Regions from separate parts of the Homo sapiens genome. Here region 2 is linked to region 1. Evidence: promoter capture Hi-C in 16 types of primary human blood cells and fetal thymus (Javierre and others, 2016). All regions are on one chromosome and are shown on one strand. Each heading gives the region's core, a stretch centred on a gene start or on the middle of the fragment in contact. The rest is flanking DNA. Distances are from core to core; before and after follow the strand shown. Region 1 holds the start of SLC25A32 (solute carrier family 25 member 32). Region 2 holds the start of COX6C (cytochrome c oxidase subunit 6C).

Region 1 (2,958 bases), core at 273-2,772:
GGGTGCTGAAGGGGGCGGGGCTCATGCAGGAGGTAAGCAGGAACAGATTACTGTTCGGTGAAAGTCTTCCAGAGAAAGCGGCTAAACTGGGTAAGGGTGTGTGCCACAGGAGGCCTTAAAAAAGATGACTGAAACGCACTGAGATTTGCAAGGGTGAATACTAAACCACTTGTGGGAAACGTAGTGACTGACTAAAGTGGCAAGGAAGGTGGGACCAGAGATTCAAGGACTGGGAACGATGCCAAATCCAAGTGACAAATCTAATTTATATTTTAGAAACATTACTGCCTTGTGACAAACTGTAAACATCTTTTGAGCAGAGACTTATTAGCAATGCTCACACACATGTTGATAATATCTCCTACTCAACCAAAATAGTGAAATACTGTTTTCGCCTCATCTCATCTCGCTTACTCCTCATTCAAACTAATGACACAGCCCTTCTTTCTATGCCTTAGGTTCATTCCTGCCTGAAGACCTTTGCTCCTGTTATTCTCTTTATTTAGAACAATCTGCTTACGCATGGTTGGTCCCTTGTCATTTAGGTATCACAAAGTACAATTTATAAGTGGTTAGCATGTTAACGGGGGAACAGACCAGGAAGGATAAATTAATTTCATTTAACCATTCTTTCATCAAACTTCTTAAGGGATGGTAAGAGAAAACTGATGCTTTTAAATTCATCTTTGTCTCTTCCAACATCCACAACTAATGTGAAGTAGTAAAGCGGCAAGAAGAGCAGTAGGAAGGTTTTAAAAGCCTGTTTAACTCTCAGCCCTTCAACCCACGAGTTTGGCTCATTCAAGTCCACTTTTCAGTAATAGGAACCTGAAGACAATCCCAGAGCAGCAGCTGGAATTTTTCTCCACTATAGACAACTGTTTCCCACTCACCACTAGAGGAAATTCTTAGAAAAAGGACTTGAACAGACTTTACTTGCTATCCATCCAGTTCCGCAGCGACTCCGTAAGCACAAAGTTTGCCTTAGCGAAAGGTAACTGAGAAAGAACCAGACCAGAGTGCCAGCCTCCCCCGGCTTTACTCCGCGAAAGCCGAGGCTAGACCCAACGACTTGCGGAAACCGTCCCTTTCTCCCTACCAACTTATCTTACCTCTCTGTAAGTCCAACTTGGTTTCGCGGACATAATTGTCCGGATTCCGGCTCAGCATCTTCACCTTCATCTCGGTTGCTCTTCCGGCCGGACTCCACGAGGTGTCCGCTAGGAGTTCCGCCCACCGCCACCTCCTCCCACAGGCGACTTCCGCTTTTCCCAGACTACTTCCAGTCACGTGACTCGCGGAGCGGCGGCCTGCTGGCTCAACTGGATCCTGCGCCGCTCCGTAGTTTTGCCGGCAAACGTTAGCAAGGGGCGGTTCTTTAGCTGTGCAGTCGCTTCCGCGTCCGTGGGCTGGAGCATTTGTGGGCGAGGCAGGGCGGAGACTCGGGAGAGGCTGGGACCTCCCCTCCATCGCGCTTTCCGCCGGCGTGACGTAGTGTCTGTGCCCCGTTCTTGCCCCCTCAGTACTAGAGTCTCCGGCTTCGCTCACGCGCCTTGGGCATAAGAGTCCTCTCGTTGGTCCCGGAGGTGGGGTTGCGCTCACAAGGGGCGACCGTCGCCACGGTGGCGGCCACTGCATCGCGTCCCACCTCCGCGGCCCTGGGCGCCGTGGTGTCGACGGGCCCCGAGCCTATGACGGGCCAGGGCCAGTCGGCGTCCGGGTCGTCGGCGTGGAGCACGGTATTCCGCCACGTCCGGTATGAGAACCTGATAGCGGGCGTGAGCGGCGGCGTCTTATCCAACCTTGCGCTGCATCCGCTCGACCTCGTGAAGATCCGCTTCGCCGGTAAGAGCCCGCCCAGACACCGGGCTGCATCCTCTCACTGTCAGCCCGAACTGGATCTCCTCCGTCTTTTCCGTTCTAGGGGGAGGAGGAGCGTTGAAGGGAGCGTTGCTGTCCGCGTTGGCTAACCTGAACTAGATTTGAGGAAATGGTGCTTGGTGGAGGGGTCGGCCTGCGATCTTCCCCGCTCCTCAAGACTAAGAGAGGGGGCATGTATGTAGAGAAGTCTGAGAAAAAACATCCTCATTGGCAGAGAAGATGGGATTCAAAGCCTGATTTGTAAAATAAAGAAGGGATTGTCACATTTTAAGGTTTAGTCCTCACACGTGCAAATCATTCACTCTTGGAGGAACTTTGAAATCTTAGCATACCCACGTGGTTTGGCAGCTCGACTAGTATTGGGATAGGGCGTAATCTTCAGCGAATGGTTGGGAGTAGATTTAGAATAGAATTCTCTTGAATGTTTGTTTTTTGGCATTTGTAGAATGGTACAAGTTTCTGTGAAAAAATAGCTAGAATCGAAATACTATTTTAAGTGTATTAGATGAATTGAGTATGTTGAAATTAACAAAGCATTTTAGAAGTTAAACTCAACACTAAAGTCTGGAAAGAGTTTCAAAGATGATCTTTGATAACTGAAATTGCAGAAAATAGTTTCCAAATAAAGTTATTACAAGTTAAGTTCAGCCTTGAGAATTAAATCTACAGAAGTTGTTTATTTTAGCATTAGGCAATTCAGTTCACTTGATTTATATTCTCTTAATATTTGTAGACTGCTGTATGGGCTACAGAAGTATCTAATAAAGTTCTTGCCTTCAGGGAACTTAGAATTTAATTGTAGGCGTTAGACTTAGTCATATAAAAGGTAATTCTAGACAACATAAAATCAAGAAATACAAAAACAAAATATAAATACAGGTAAACCGTTAAGAAAATTCTACATTACTGATGGCCATGTGTATCTTTAAGGTTCAGTGGAAGATTGGGGCTTGGGGTTTCCCATAGAAGGGCTAATATTTTGACAGCTGGAGAGGAAGCAAGAACCCGTTCTATGAAGGAAAATCATCGAAAATTATGGAGTATTATCTCTAGAAAAAACACCACAAAGACATATAA
Region 2 (2,958 bases), core at 194-2,693, 3.5 Mb after region 1:
TTCAGATAAGGGATACTCAAGCTGCATATACATTATCCCATTTAATTTACATCACAACCCAACAAAATGGGTACTATTTTTAGAGGAGAAAGCAGACTTAGAAAGATGAAGAAATTTGCCGCTACAAGTTGATGAGCTGGGACTCAAATCCAGGTCTGTTCGGCTCTAGAACAGAACCTATATGTAACATGTCTCTCTTCATCTATCGCTCAGGTTTTATTCACGTGTCACCCTCAGTCATTCACTATGGTTCACTGGATAGCTAGGGAAGCACAGAACAAACACTCAGTATTTCACTCAGGTCAGGCTCTGTGCCCTGAGTGTGCCTGTCTTTGCCATGTTCTCCCAGCCAATGTTTTCTCTCCAATTTCTCCAGTTTTCCAGGCTTTCCATTAGACTGAAACTCAGCTCTGCTTCCATCTCTTCCACGTATTGTCTGAAGCTTTCCCTGATGGTTTCACATACACTAATCCCTGTGAACTCTTAAGTTCACCACTTCTTCTCTGGGGGTGGGGATGGAAAGAGAATAGAAACAAATTACTCTCTGGACAAATTCCATGCAAAGATTTTCAGCTGGGTAGACCCTTGATAAGAGGCCTGAAAAACGTTGGTAAAGTCCAAACCTACTTTTGAACCTCAATTGAGCACCTTTCTTTGTGGCCAGGTTTCACCCTCCAGAGTGTTGGTTAATAGGTTGAGGACAAAGACTCCCTGATCAGAATGAGACTCCCCGAAGATCTGTCCTCTTGTTTAGCAGAATCTGGCACATAGTAGGTACTCAGTGTATATATCGACTCAATATCATGCATCTGTTGTGTCCCAGCTACCTTCCACAGGGCTTGATGGGTTGACTTAAATAATGCTTTTAAAATTCAGGTTATTTCAATACAAACAGCCTGGCATCATTAAGGCACAAGAGCCTCACCCTTCTACACCACTTTCCACGAACTTCCAGTTGCCTTCCTTCAAAATCCTTGTTTTCTTAAGAAACCCACAAAAATACCGCCCCTCTATCAAAACGTCCTCAGCTTTGCCAGGTAGAGAATTGCTTCTGCAGTAGCTGGGCCACGTCTCTGTGGTAGTGCCCACTGCATGGGATCGGTATTAATCTGTTTGTCTTTTTCATCTTCTGGGCTGTGAGCTCCTAGAAGTCAGCTTTTTCACTTTTACCCAAGCCAAACGGTTATTCGCGTAAGGTTGGTTATAATTAAAATGTCGGTTTGTGCACATGGTTTGGGACTCTGTGTATGAGTACGACTAATATCTTCAATTTACTAAGAAGATAAAGAGGTCGATAAATAAGGAGGTCAAGCCCGTTTTGCAAGGTCACACAGGAAAGAAGCAGACCACGAAATGAACTTCGGCTGTCACCTGCGGTGGGCGCACTAGAGGTCTTTTGAACTCCTTCGGCTACCGTCGCCGCGTTCTCGCTGTGCACTCTTATTCTGCGCCTGCGCGCGGCTACAGCACGGTTCGTTTTTCCTTTAGTCAGGAAGGACGTTGGTGTTGAGGTGAGTCCGGTCCCTTTTGCATCCCTACCCCGACACTGCGGGTTGTCACAACGGCACCCTCCCGCTTTCTCTCTGCCTCGGATTTAGTCGTGACTGTGTGTCTCCGCCGTGGTGCAGCTTCAGGCCTCTCCCGCATCTACTCTCTCACGCTTCCGCTGCGGCCTGAGGGAGGGCGGCGGGCGGACCACGGACCGGGGTGGGTTGCGACGGCCCCACCGAAGCCGGGTGGGCTGCGGGACCCTCGAGAACCCAGCTGGCTTCGGAGTGAGCTGGCCCGGGGCTGGTACCCGCTGCGCTTTTTCACAGCCATTGTGACCTTGGTGAGGTCATTTGACCTATCTGGCCCCGGTGTTTCTCCCGTGAGAAAAGGGGTGGTGGTTTCTAATGCAGCTGGTCGTGAGGCGCAAGGGTTAGTGTAGGCGAAGCAGCTGGCAGCGTCGCTCGCTGTGTGGCAGCGTTTTAAATTAGAGCTGGAAAACTGGAGGAGGGTCACCGTACCTGCCGCAGGAGGGGAAGGATGGGCTTCCTGCAACCTCCCTTGCCCCACGGCTTCCCATCCTACCCCCGGCCGCGTTAGCTGAAGGCCAGCAGGGACGCAAAAGTTTTTAGGCCCCTTAGGTCTTTAGGTGAGGCTGGGCAAAGGAGCAGTTAGGGAATTTGGGCCCTCATGGTATTTGCCGCGTTCCCGTCCAGGTTTTAATGGTATACCGTGTGACCGTGGAAAACACCTGCCTCATGATCTGACAGGGTTGTCGCGAAGGTTTAACGAGTGGACAGAAAATTTTTAGAAGAGAAAGTGTTGCATAAATGGGTTTGCAATCGTTAATTACCAATGCGGAGCTACTGCTTATTTTTCTTGTTGTTGGAAAGATTTTTGTTGCCTTTGCTCGTCCATTACTAGTGTGCCGCAGTTTGTCGCGTTTATTTAGGGTGGTCGCTCAGTATATGGGGGGCGGGGGGAAGATGAAACAGGCTAAGCCAAGAGACAGCTTAGGCTTTGTGGGAGGAATCCATCCACTGTCGTGCTGTGCCTCTCTAGGTAGTAAAATGTACTATGCATGAGAATTCCTTTTGATATCTTTTCTGAGTTTTTCTTTTATTATTTTACCCGAGAAAGGGAAAAAAAGCTCAGAGTAGTGAGAGCTACATGAGGTATGCAGGACGCAGAGACCTGAGTATTGGACTTCAGTGCCGCCCCTCACCCATGTCTCAACCCAAATCTTATTCCTGAATTTGTGATATAAAGGACAGCGTTTAGTCAGTCAATAGCTTATGTTATTTTAATGTAAATTTTTGATAAACAGTTTAGGAATTGCCTCTCATTTTTTCTTAACTCACTTGTAGGCCGGAATCCCAGCACTTTGGGAGGACGAGGTAGGATGATCACTTGAGGGCAGGAGTTTAAGACCAGCCTGGGGAGCATAGCTAGACCCTGTTTCTGCCAAAA

Evidence for each region. Contacts are between HindIII fragments. The CHiCAGO score rates a contact against its expected background, and 5 or more counts as called.
Region 2: a contact is called between the fragment with the promoter of COX6C here and the fragment with the promoter of SLC25A32 in region 1, in 2 of 17 cell types (total B cells and monocytes). The highest score is 6.7, in total B cells.

The regions. Positions count from the first base shown.
Region 1 is chr8:103,413,671-103,416,628 of GRCh38, reverse strand. SLC25A32 (solute carrier family 25 member 32) reads left to right here and starts at 1,522. Exons shown (of 7, transcript NM_030780.5): 1 at 1,522-1,845. The coding sequence starts at 1,692. It overlaps DCAF13 (DDB1 and CUL4 associated factor 13), which reads right to left and starts at 1,243. Exons shown (of 11, transcript NM_015420.7): 1 at 1,113-1,243. The coding sequence starts at 1,182. RefSeq lists enhancers at 1,162-1,501, 1,235-1,856. The HindIII fragment of the contact is 9,226 bases long and covers 1-2,958 here.
Region 2 is chr8:99,892,192-99,895,149 of GRCh38, reverse strand. COX6C (cytochrome c oxidase subunit 6C) reads left to right here and starts at 1,443. Exons shown (of 4, transcript NM_004374.4): 1 at 1,443-1,511. RefSeq lists a silencer at 1,662-1,831 and enhancers at 1,305-1,952, 1,953-2,601. The HindIII fragment of the contact is 2,962 bases long and covers 445-2,958 here.